Regions from separate parts of the Homo sapiens genome. Here regions 1 and 3 are each linked to region 2. Evidence: promoter capture Hi-C in 16 types of primary human blood cells and fetal thymus (Javierre and others, 2016). All regions are on one chromosome and are shown on one strand. Each heading gives the region's core, a stretch centred on a gene start or on the middle of the fragment in contact. The rest is flanking DNA. Distances are from core to core; before and after follow the strand shown. Region 1 holds the start of OR10H1 (olfactory receptor family 10 subfamily H member 1). Region 2 holds the start of LINC00661 (long intergenic non-protein coding RNA 661). Region 3 holds the start of OR10H5 (olfactory receptor family 10 subfamily H member 5).

Region 1 (3,680 bases), core at 108-2,607, 200 kb after region 2:
TTCTCCCGTAGATATCTTTCCGTAACTTGGTTTTTCACTCAGCGTCTTAGAGTGAACTCTGTGTGAGTTTATGCAGACCAAAGTTTCTCAGTCTTGGCAATGTCGACATTTTTGTGTTGACAAAATGGCTGGAGTGCCGTGGCTACTCACAGGGGCAATCATAATGCATCGTTATATATAGTAGTATATAGTCCCATTTATATGAAATGTCTAGAATAGGTAAGTCCATAGAGCCAGAGCCAGAAAACAAATTGGTGGTTTTGAAGGACTGGGTGGGGTAGGGGAGTGGCTGCTAATGGGTATTAGGTGATGAAAACATTTTGGAACTAGACAGAGGCGGCGGCCACACAACATTGTGAATGCATTCAATCCCAGGGAATTGTATACTTTAAAGTGGTTGATTATTTTATGTGAATTTCACCTCAAAAGCAGAACGAAGCGAAAGCAACAATAATGCACAACAGAACTCTGATTTTATGGGTTTGCATTGTTTTCACATCCTACATGCTCATGAAGATCTGAAGGGATACCCATTAAATTCACCGTCACGATTGCCTGGCTGGCCATTGCATGGTTTGCTGCTTTGTATGTAGCATTTCAATTACATAATAAGAAGAAACAGGCCAGGCATGGTGGCTCACAGCTGTAATCCCAGCACTTTGAGAGGTCAAGGTGGGAGGATCCCTTGAGCCAAGGAGCTCAAGACCAGCCTGGGCAACAAAGCGAGACCCCATCTCTACAGAAAAATTAAAACTTAGCCCAGGTGTGGTGGCAAGCACCTTTACTCCCAGCTGCTCAGGAGGCTGAGGCAGGAGAATCATTTGAGCCTGGGAGGTTGAGGCTGCAGTGAGCCATAATCACACCACTGCACTCCAGCCTGGGCAACAGAGCTAGACCCTGTCTCAAAAAATAAAAATAAAAACAAATACGTGTGTGTGTGTTGGTTTTAAAAAATTATTTTAAAGGACATTTAGTTGGGCAAATGACCCAGTTGGAGAAGAATGAAGGTGACGGGGCATATCAAGGCAGCCTCTGCAGTCCCTGGGGGCAATGGCAGGGCTGCCCTCCTGTCAATTTCAACAGTCATGGGCCCAAACCCCAAATCTGTAGAGCACTAGACTCTGCTCAAGCTCTTGACAAGCTCAGGGAATTGACTCACCCCTGGCAGGCGGGGGGAATGGGAAAGTGAGGATACAGATTCCCTGAGGTTGCCTCCTCTCTGGCAGGGTCCCTGGGGTCCCAGCATCCCTGTAGCGGAGACAGAGACAGTAGGACCACAGCGAGGGAAGCCGGTGGGCAGGGAGTCAGGGAGGGATAAATAATCGCATTTGGGCTCAGTCAAGCCCCCGGCTCAGCTGGTGTGGCTGCTTGGTGCAGCCCACACCTGGTCAGCTCCCACCTGTGGAGAAACTCCAAACTAGAGCCTCCTACTGGGATGAAGCAGAAGCAGATGCCTGGAGTCCCAGGTGAGTCACCTCCCCTCTCAGCCACCTGACCAGGAGAGACCTGGGGAACCAGCACCTGCCAGGGACTCCAAGAAACCACCTGTTTATATTACTCCTTTAGCAATGTGAGTCTACAGGGCAGTGGGTGACAGGCAGAGGCCACTCACCACGTCTTAGTCAGTGTGCTGTTTGCTTAGCAGGACTTACCTTCTTCTATTTTTTTTTTTTTTTTTTTGAGACGGAATCTCGCTCTGTAGCCCAGGCTGGAGTGCAGTGGCGCAATCTCGGCTCACTGCAACCTCCGCCTGCCAGGTTCAAGCGATTCTTCTCCCTCAGCCTCCTGAGTAGCTGGGACTACAGGTGCGTGCCACCATGCCTGGCTAATTTTTTGTATTTTTAGTAGAGACAGGGGTTTCACCATGCTGGACAGGCTGGTCTTGAACTCCTGATCTCGTGATCCACCCGCCTCGGCTTCCCAAAGTACTGGGATTACAGGCATGAGCCATCGTGCCCAGCCAGGACTTGCCTTCTTTAGAGCTCCTGCTGCCTCATGAGGTAGGTCCCTTGGATGGGGGAGGTAACAGGTGCAGAGAGAAGACAGCCAATGCTCAATGTGACCCAAGGTGATGGTTTGATTTTAACCTCTCTTCTCGGTCTGTCCAGGCAAGAAGTCTACGGAAAAAGGATTGGGAAGAGGCGGAGAAAAGAGAGAAAGAGGATTCAGGGTTCAGAAGCTCCAGCCACCACCCCAGGGTGTAAAGAATCAGGGTGGGCCGGGTGCAGTGGCTCATGCCTGCAATCCCAGCACTTTGGGAGGCCAAGGTGGGAGGATCACTTGAGTCCAAGAGTTTGAGGCCAGCCTGGGCAGCATAGTGAGACCCTGTCTGTACAAAAAAATACAAAAATTGGCCAGGAATGGCAGGCACCTGTAGCTACTCCAGAGATTGAGGTGGGAGGATTGCTTGAGCCCAGGAAGTTAAGGCTGCAGTGAGCTGTGATTGTGCCTCTGCACTCCAGCCTGGGTGACAGAGGGATACCCTGTCTCTCTCTCTCTCTCTCTCTCTCTCTCTCTCTCTCTCTCTCTCTCTCTCTCTCACACACACACACACACACACACACACACACACACAAGGGAGGCGTCAATGGGAGCAGGTGGTGAGGGAATGGTTAGGAGCTGGGGATGAGAAGATGGAGAGAAAAGAGAGGGAAGTGGTGGCTTAAGTGGAAGAGAGGGGAGGCCAGACAGCTTCACTAAGAAGAGAGAGCCAGGATGGGTGAGAGTTAAGGCCAGATGGGGTCTCAGAGACAAGACAGGCCTGGCCCATGGAGTGATGCTGTCACCCAGGAGACACGTGACAACGTATAAGGACATTTCTGATTGTCGTGACTGGGGAGTGCTGCTGGTATCTATCTGGTGGGTGGAGACCAAGAATGCTGCTCAGTCTCCTGCAGTGCACAGGACACCCCTCTGAGAGAGAATGATTCGCCCCTAGCGTCCCTAATGCTGAAGGCAGGAAACCCTGCTCTAGGGATGTCTGTGGCAGGACTTGTCCACAGCCACGCTTAGCCCTAGAGTCTCTGAGTGGAGAACTGGCCCCACCGGGTGTTCCTGTCAGTGCTAGACAGTGGGCTTGCTTGCTCTCTCTCTTTCTTCTCACCTTTTTCTTCTCTTTCCCCTCTGTCCTCTCTTTCTCCCTACCTCTCTTTCCTCTCTCTGTTTCTCTTCCCACCTCCCTCTCTCTCCACTTCTCTCTCTCTCCCCACCCTTCTCTCTGTCTCTCTCTCTCTTTCCCCAACCCTCTCTCTCCCCACCTCCCACACTCTCTGTGTCTCTCTCCCCACTTCTCTCTCCCCACCTCTCTCTGTGTCTTTCTCCCTGTCCTTCTCTCTCTCTCTCCCCCCACCTCCCACTCTCTATCTCCCCACTTCTCTCTCTCCCTCCATCTCTCTCTCTCTCTGTGTGTGCTCTTTCCCCACATCTCTCTGTGTCTCCACCTCTCTGTCTCTCTCTTTCTCTCTCCCCACCTCTCTTTCTTTCTCTCCCCACCTCTCTCTCTCTGTTTCTCCCTCGCCTCCTCTCTCTCTCTCTCTCTCTCTCTCTTCCCCTGCCTCTCTCTCTATCCCCATCTCTCTCTTTCTCTTCCTACCTTTCTCTCTCTCTGTTTTACCTACAGAGGAACCCACTGGATGTTCTGCTGGTGAATCAATGCCCAGAAGCTCTAAATCCTCCTCGCT
Region 2 (3,858 bases), core at 828-3,327:
CCCCACTCCCAGACGAGGGACCCAGTATGTCCAGTGGGTTCCACAGCAACCCCCACTGACTGCACCCGAAGTCTGGGTTGATGAGATCTCCCCCTGTGGGGACCCATCTTAGAGCACAGACTTGGACGGAGGACCACCCTCCACCCCACCCACAGGGGCTCCATCCTGGGGGCTCTTCTAGGGCGAGGCTCAGCTCCACTGGGGTCAGAAACCCCAGGCAGATGTGCAATCCAGAACACGGAGGTCACAGAGGTCAAGGCTTGAGTTCAGCATGGCACAGGCCAGGGCTGAGAGCATGGCCCAGGGCCACGTCTGGGTCTCTGGGCCAGTTACTGCCCCTCTGACCTCAGGCGTCTCACCTATTCAGTGGGTACATTTGAGGAAAGCACCCCTCCACCCCGCCATGGAGTCGCCGTGAGGATGAAGGAGACGACTGTTTGCATGGTCAGCATAGAACGGGCACCCGGTGAGTGCTCATGGATGACCCTCCTCGGGTAGCTGCCACCCACCTGGTTGTGACTGTCCCCAAGTCAGCAGGGGGGAAGAGAGCAGGTCACGCTTTCCTGAGTCTGATCAGGCAGCGGTGCTGAGATGTGCTTCTCACCCAGAAAAGGGTCCTTTCTGCACAACCACTTACAGCACCTCTGTGTCTCCAACTGCTCCATGACACGGAGGTAGGCTGGCGGCACTTGGCACAGTGACAGCATGGGTTCACAGCCTCTGTCATGACGGGGCCCTACCTGGCTCAGCAGGGCCCAGGGTCAGCGTCCTCTGCCCGCTTAATGGTCAACATGTATGCGTGCAATTTGTCTGTGTATGTGAGGATGCATGTGTGTGGGTGAACACGTCTCTCCTCCAGCTGGGCCTGGCTGCTCCACTCAGGTGTGCACCTGGATCCCTGTCACTGTCACCCCCGGGCCTGTGGCCAGCATCAGAGCACCCATAGGTGCTCCTCAGCCTCTGCTCTTTCCATGCTGGGTGGTCCTGGGGATGCAGATGGGGCAGGGACATAGGGCAAAGGGCAGAGGGCAGAGGGCAGAGGGCAGAAGCCAGGCTTCCCCCTTGGGGTGACTCGCGTAGTGTGTAAAGTGCCAGGTCTGTGTGGCAGGGCTGGATTCAATGCAATGCACCCTCTCACCTCCTCCTCCCAGAAGCCCACTGGGGTGCTGTGACTCACCCCCCACCCCATGGATGGAGGCAATCACGGAGGCTTCGAGGACTAACCCGTGGCCTGAGATCACCCAGGATCCCACTGGCCAGGCTTCCAATGGTTAAGCTCCCACTGAACAGGTCCTAGCTGACCACCCCCACAATGACCAGGTCCCACTGACCAGATGTGGACTGACCAGGTCCTGCTGACTGGGCCCCACAGACCAGGCCCTGGCTCATCAGACACCACTGACAAAGGCCACAATAACAAGGCTGCAACTGACAAGGCCCTCACGGCCCTCACTGACTAGGTCCCAACTGATGGACCCCACCAAATAGATCTCACTAATCAGACCCCCGCTGACCAGGCCCTAACAACTGCTGGACCCCTGCTGGCCAGGCCCCAAATGCTGAACCCCACTCACCAGGCCCCAAAAGCTGAACCCCACTGACTGGGCCCCAAATGCTGGATCCCTGCTGACAGGCCCCAACTATGGGATCCCCACCAACCAGGCGCCAACTGTCAGACCCCTGCCAACCAGGCCCCGGACGCTGGACTCCACTGACCATGTCCCAGCTACTGGACCCCCACTGACCAGGCCCCAACAACTGCTGGACTGCACTGATCAAGCCCAAACTGCCAGACCCCACTGACTGGGCCCCAACTCCTAGACCCCTCCTGACTGAGCCCCAACTGCCAGACCCTTGCCAACCAGGCCTCTTCTTATGAGACCCCTGCTGACCAGACCCCAACTGCTGGGCCCCTGCTTACCAGGCCCCCACATCCACACCTCACTGACTAGGCCTCACTGCTCTGATCCCCGCCGATCAGGCCCCAAATGCCGGGCCCAGATGACCAGGCCTCAACTGCTAGACGGCCCACCAACCAGGCCTCAGCTCCTGGACCCCTGTTGACCAGGCCCCAACTGCCAGACCCCAATGACCAGGCCCCAACTGCCAGAGCCCTGCTGACCAGGTTCCAACTGCTGGATCCCCTTTGACCAGGCCCCAACTGTTGGACCCCCGACAACCAGGTCCCAACTGCCTGATTCCGCCAACCAGGCCCCAACTGGTAGACCCCTGCTGACCAGGTCCCAACTGCGAGACCCATGCAGATGAAGGCCCAGCGTCCAGACCTCACTGCCTAGACCGCACTGATCTGATCCTCACTGACCAGGCCCCAACCGCCAGACCCCACCTACCAGGTCCCAGCTGCTGCATCCCTGCCAAATAACCCCCAGCTGCCGTATCCCCTCTGACCAGGCCCCAACTGCTGGACCCCCTCCAAACAGGCCCCAACTATAAGACCCCGCTGACCAGGCCCCAACTGCCAGACCCCCATGGACGAGGCTGCAACTGCCAGATCTCTGCTCACCAGGCCCCAACTGTGGGACCCCCGCTGGCCAGACCCCAACCATGAGACCCTCGCCAAACACGCCCCAACTACTGGACTCTTGCTGGCCAGGCCCCAACCCCCAGGGCCTAGTCAGTCAGTGAGACCTGACTAGGTCTCACTGATCAGATCCCCGCTGACCTTGCCCCAGCTGCAGACCCCTATTGACTGTGGGCGGAGGATTACCCAGGTGCCGAGGTGAGAGACTGAAGACACAAACTGTTTCAGTATAATAAAGAAAATAGTTAGAATAAGAATAGTCATAATACAAATTAGATATAGAGATGATCATGGACAATTATCAATCATTATTATAAACATTATTAATCATTAGCTTTTAATATTACTCTTTGTTGCGTTACTAACATAACCTAGGAATAACTGGCGGGTAGAGGGTCAGGTGCTGAAGGGACATTGTTAGAAGTGACCTAGAAGGCAAGAGGTGAGCCCTCTGTCAACGCGTGCATAAGGGCAGCTTGAGGGCTCCTTGGTCAAGCGGTAACGCCAGTGTCTGGGAAGGCGCCCGTTACTTAGCAGACTGCGAAAGGGAGTCTCCTTTCCTTGGAGGAGTCAGGGAACACTGCTCCACCAGCTTCTTGTGGAAGGCTGGATATTATCTAGGCCTGCCGCAGTCATCCGGAGGCCTAAACCCCTCCTTGTGGTGCTGTGCTCCAATGGTCACTTTCATGTTCCTCCCGTACTCCTGGTTCCTCTTTGAAATTTGTAGTAGATAGCGGTAGAAGGAATAGTGAAAGTCTTACAGTCTTTGATCTTTCTTGTAAGTGCATAGAAGAAAACGCTGACGTATGCTGCCTTCTCTCTCTCTGCTTCGGCTACCTAAGAGGGAAGGGCCCCCTGTGCTGTGATCACGTGACTTGCTTCACCTTGTCAATCACTTAGAAGATTCACCCTCCTGACCCTACGCCCCTTGTCTTGTATGCAATAAATATCAGTGTGCCCAGCCATTCAGGGCCACTACTGGTCTCCGCGTCTTGATGGTAGTGGTCCCTCGGGCCCAGCTGTTTTCTCTTTATCTCTTGGTCTTGTGTCTTTATTTCTTACGCTCTCTCGTCTCTGCACACGGGGAGAACACCCGCTAAGTCCCGTAGGGCTGGACCCTCCAATCAACCAGGTCCCAACTGCTGGACCCCACTGACCAGGCCCCAGGAACTGCCGGCCGCCTGCTGACCAGGCCCCACTGGTCCGATCCCCACTGAGCAGTCCCCTGCTGATCAAACCCCACTGACCAGATTTTCCATGACCTGACCCTCATTGAATGGATCCCGTTAAGCCGACCACAATGACCATGTCCTCAC
Region 3 (4,037 bases), core at 211-2,710, 230 kb after region 2:
CAAAACTCATGTTCATTCAGAACCTCAGAATGTGACCTTTGGACACAGGGAGGGGAACAACACACACTGGGGCCTGTTGGGGTAGGGCAGGGGTGGGGAGAGCCTCAGAAAAATAGCTAATGTATGCCAGGCTTAATACCTAGGTGATAGGTTGATAGGTGCAGCAAAGCACCATGGCACACATTTGCCTGTGTGACAAACCTGCACATCCTGAGCATGTACCCTGAAACCAAACTAAACTAAACTAAAATAAAATAATGTGACCTTAGGTGGCAATAGAGTCTTTTACAGATGTCATTAAGGTAAGGATCCAAAAATGAGATCAGCTGGGTGTGGTGGCTCACACCTATAATCCCAGCACTGTGGGAGACCAAGGTGGGTGGGGCGGGGGATTGCTTGAATCCAGGAGTTCGAGACCAGCCTGAGCAACATGGCAAAACCCCATCTCTACAAAAATTAGCTGGGCGTGGTGCTGTGTGCCTGCGCTAACAGCTGCTTAGGAGGCCAAGTGGGAGGATCAGTTGAGCCTGGGAGGTCGAGGCTGCAGTGAGCTGTGATCGTGCCACTGCACTCCAGCCTGGGTGACAGAGCGAGACCCTGTCCAAAAAATAATAATAATAAAAATAAAAATGAGATTATTCTGAATTAGGTTGTTTACTAAATCCAACAACTGGTGCCCCTCAAAGACGAGGGGAGGACACACAGAGGAAAAGGTCGCGTGAAGAGAGAGGCAGAGATTGGAGCGATGCAGCTACAAATCAATCAATGCCTAGAGCACCCAGAAGCTGGAAGAGGCAAGGCATCTTCTCCCTTAGAATCTTCAGAGGGAGAGTAGCTTTGTAGACGTCTTGCTTTAAGACGTCTAGCCTCCAGAACCCTGCAAGAATGCATTTATCTTGTTTTAAGCCACAAGGTTTGCGGCACTTTGAAATGGCAGCTACAATAATCTCATACAAGCGCACACAACTGCACACACACACACACAGTGAAGGCAGGAGTACACATGGGTGATGCCTAAGTACACCCACATGCATGGTGACACACTCAATGTCACCCGCTTGGCTCAGAACCACCCTCCTCCACAACTTAGTATAGAGACCACTCCCCACCCCAGCATGGACCCTGGTGGCCACGACTGCTGTGGAAAGGGGGCTGCTCTAGGCAGTAGGTGGACTCTATGGGGGACTTGGAGTGAGGACAGGCTGATCCAGCCTGGAGTCAGGTGGCTGAGGCTATAGAACCCCTACTCCATATCATCCCATGCTCCCTCTCGTTTCTTTTCCCAAACCTGTGCCTCCCTCTGTTCCAATTTTCCCTGCTTCTCTTGCCTTCTCCCTTCCACCTCCCAGTACTCTTGCCACTTCATCCTGGAAAGCAGGTTTGGAAATAGACGACTCCACTTACCTTCATCAGAGACCTTTAGGGACGCCTTGCAGCCAGGCCTGTAATGGCCCTGGGCACAGTGCACCCAGGGTGAGAGCTTCATCTCTGCAGGCGTCTTCCCCAGTGGCACGTTCCCAGAGGTGTCTTGAGGAGCCTGCCTGGGATGCAGGATGCAGGGTAATCGAAGTCCAAGGAGGGAGGCGGGGGACCTTGGGATTGCCCTCTCCATTCCTGCCTCCCTCCTTCCTTTGCTGCTTCCCTCCCTCTTTTCTTCCTTCTCTTCCTTCCTTCCTCTCTTCTTCCCTTCTTCCATCTTTCCTCCCTTCCTCCTGCCTGGGACCCCTTCCACCACTACTCACTCTCACTTATCTCAGTCCTGTTCTCATTTGAGGTTTCAGTTTTTACATCACCTCCTCCCTAAAGATCTCACCATCAAACCCTGACACCACCATCAAACCCTGACACCACCACCACCACCACCCCCTGCGGCTAGCGAGGCTGGGCTGGGCTGCCCCAATTCCAAGCATTTTGGAAAAATGGGACTGGATTCTGGGTGATGTTTCCCAGGATGGTGTCTCTTCTCAACAGATATCAGGAAAGGGATCTGGAGAGACACAGAGGTGTGATTCTCAGAAGAAGCATCCTCTATGGTTGCCTCTGGGAACACAAAGCCCACAGAGGGCAGGGAACAAGGCCAAGGTCACACGGTAGGTTCCTGCAGCAAGCCCAGATGGAGTGGAGGGGCCAAGAGCTCCAGCTCTGCCTCTTCCTCCCCATAAACTTGACAGGGTGCATCATGACCCAGGTATCAACACCTTCAGAATCTCCCAGTTCCCCATAACTCCAGAAACAGTCCAACAAAGATTTCAGATACTGGAATTATCAGGCAAGGACTATGAAACAATATTGCTTACGAAGTTTAAATAACGAAATGTAATTTTGGAAATATCTTCAAGGATAAAGCATTGTAAAGAGCGGCAGGGTTGATTTGAAAAAAAAGATATATAATTTTTAGAACCAAAGCTACAATATTAATATCCCAGGAGAAGTTTAATGCATGTCAGACACAATTGAAGAGAGAATTAGTGAGTTGGGGGCCGGGCGCGGTGGCTCATGCCTGTAATCCCAGCACTCTGGGAGGCTGAGGCAGGTGGATCACTTGAGTTCAGGAGCTCAAGACCAGCCTGGCCAACATGGCGAAACCCCATCTCTACTCAAAATACAAAAATTAGTCAGATGTAGATTCTGGATATTAGCCCTTTGTCAGATGAGTAGATTGCAAAAATTTTCTCCCATTCTGTAGGTTGACTGTTCACTCTGATGGTAGTTTCTTTTGCTGTGCAGAAGCTCTTTAGTTTAATTATATCCCATTTGTCAATTTTGGCTTTTGTTGCCGTTGCTTTTGGTGTTTTAGACATGAAGTCCTTGCCCATGCCTATGTACTGAAAGGTATTGCCTAGGTTTTCTTCTAGGGTTTTTATGGTTTTAGGTCTAACATTTAAGTCTTTAGTCCATCTTGAATTAATTTTTGTGTAAGGTGTAAGGAAGGGATCCAGTTTCAGCTTTCTACATATGGCTAGCCAGTTTTCCCAGCACCATTTATTAAATAGGGAATCCTTTCCCCATTTCTTGTTTTTGTCATGTTGTCAAAGATCAGATAGAAGGACCTCTTCAAGGAGAACTACAAACCACTGCTCGATGAAATAAAAGAGGATACAAACAAATGGAAGAACATTCCATGCTCATGGGTAGGAAGAATCAATATTGTGAAAATGGCCATACTGCCCAAGGTAATTTATAGATTCAATGCCATCCCCATCAAGCTACCAATGACTTTCTTCACAGAATTGGAAAAAACTACTTTAAAGTTCATATGGAACCAAAAAAGAGCCCACATTGCCAAGTCAATCCTAAGCCAAAAGAACAAAGCTCAGAATCTACAATGAACTCCAACATATTTACAAGAAAAAACAAACAACCCCATCAAAAAGTGGGTGAAGGATATGAACAGACACTTCTCAAAAGAAGACATTTATGCAGCCAAAAGACACATGAAAAAATGCTCGTCATCACTGGCCATCAGAGAAATGCAAATCAAAACCACAATGAGATACCATCTCACACCAGTTAGAATGGCGATTATTAAAAAGTCAGGAAACAACAGGTGCTAGAGAGGATGTGGAGAAATAGGAACACTTTTACACTGTTGGTGGGACTGTAAACTAGTTCAACCATTGTGGAAGCCAGTGTGGCAATTCCTCAGGGATCTAGAACTAGAAATATCATTTGACCCAACAATCCCATTACTGGGTATATACCCAGAGGATTATAAAACATGCTGCTATGAAGACACATGCACACGTATGTTTATTGCGGCACTATTCACAATAGCAAAGACTTGGAACCAACCCAAATGTCCAACAATGATAGACTGGATTAAGAAAATGTGGCACATATACACCATGGAATACTATGCAGCCATAAAAAATGACGAGTTCATGTCCTTTGTAGGGACATGGATGAAGCTGGAAACCATCATTCTCAGCAAACTATCGCAAGAACAAAAAACCAAACACCGCATGTTCTTACTCATAGGTGAGAACTGAACAATGAGAACACATGGACACAGGAAGGAGAACATCACACACCAGGGA

What was found. The method cuts DNA at HindIII sites, captures the fragments that hold promoters and counts their contacts. A CHiCAGO score of 5 or more calls a contact.
Region 1: a contact is called between the fragment with the promoter of OR10H1 here and the fragment with the promoter of LINC00661 in region 2, in 5 of 17 cell types (naive CD8 T cells, erythroblasts, total CD8 T cells and 2 more). The highest score is 7.8, in naive CD8 T cells.
Region 3: the fragment with the promoter of OR10H5 here is called in contact with the fragment with the promoter of LINC00661 in region 2 in 7 of 17 cell types (erythroblasts, naive CD8 T cells, non-activated CD4 T cells and 4 more); the score reaches 10.6 in erythroblasts.

Annotation. Positions count from the first base shown.
Region 1 is chr19:15,813,341-15,817,020 of GRCh38, reverse strand. It overlaps OR10H1 (olfactory receptor family 10 subfamily H member 1), which reads left to right and starts at 1,357. Exons shown (of 4, transcript NM_013940.4): 1 at 1,357-1,466. The HindIII fragment of the contact is 16,264 bases long and covers 1-3,680 here.
Region 2 is chr19:16,013,853-16,017,710 of GRCh38, reverse strand. LINC00661 (long intergenic non-protein coding RNA 661) reads right to left here and starts at 2,077. Exons shown (of 9, transcript NR_026828.1): 1 at 1,922-2,077. LOC105372291 (a long non-coding RNA gene) reads left to right here and starts at 2,655. Exons shown (of 2, transcript XR_936355.1): 1 at 2,655-2,740; 2 at 3,326-3,575. The HindIII fragment of the contact is 12,039 bases long and covers 1-3,858 here.
Region 3 is chr19:15,785,084-15,789,120 of GRCh38, reverse strand. OR10H5 (olfactory receptor family 10 subfamily H member 5) reads right to left here and starts at 1,460. Exons shown (of 2, transcript NM_001004466.2): 1 at 1,405-1,460. The HindIII fragment of the contact is 16,043 bases long and covers 1-4,037 here.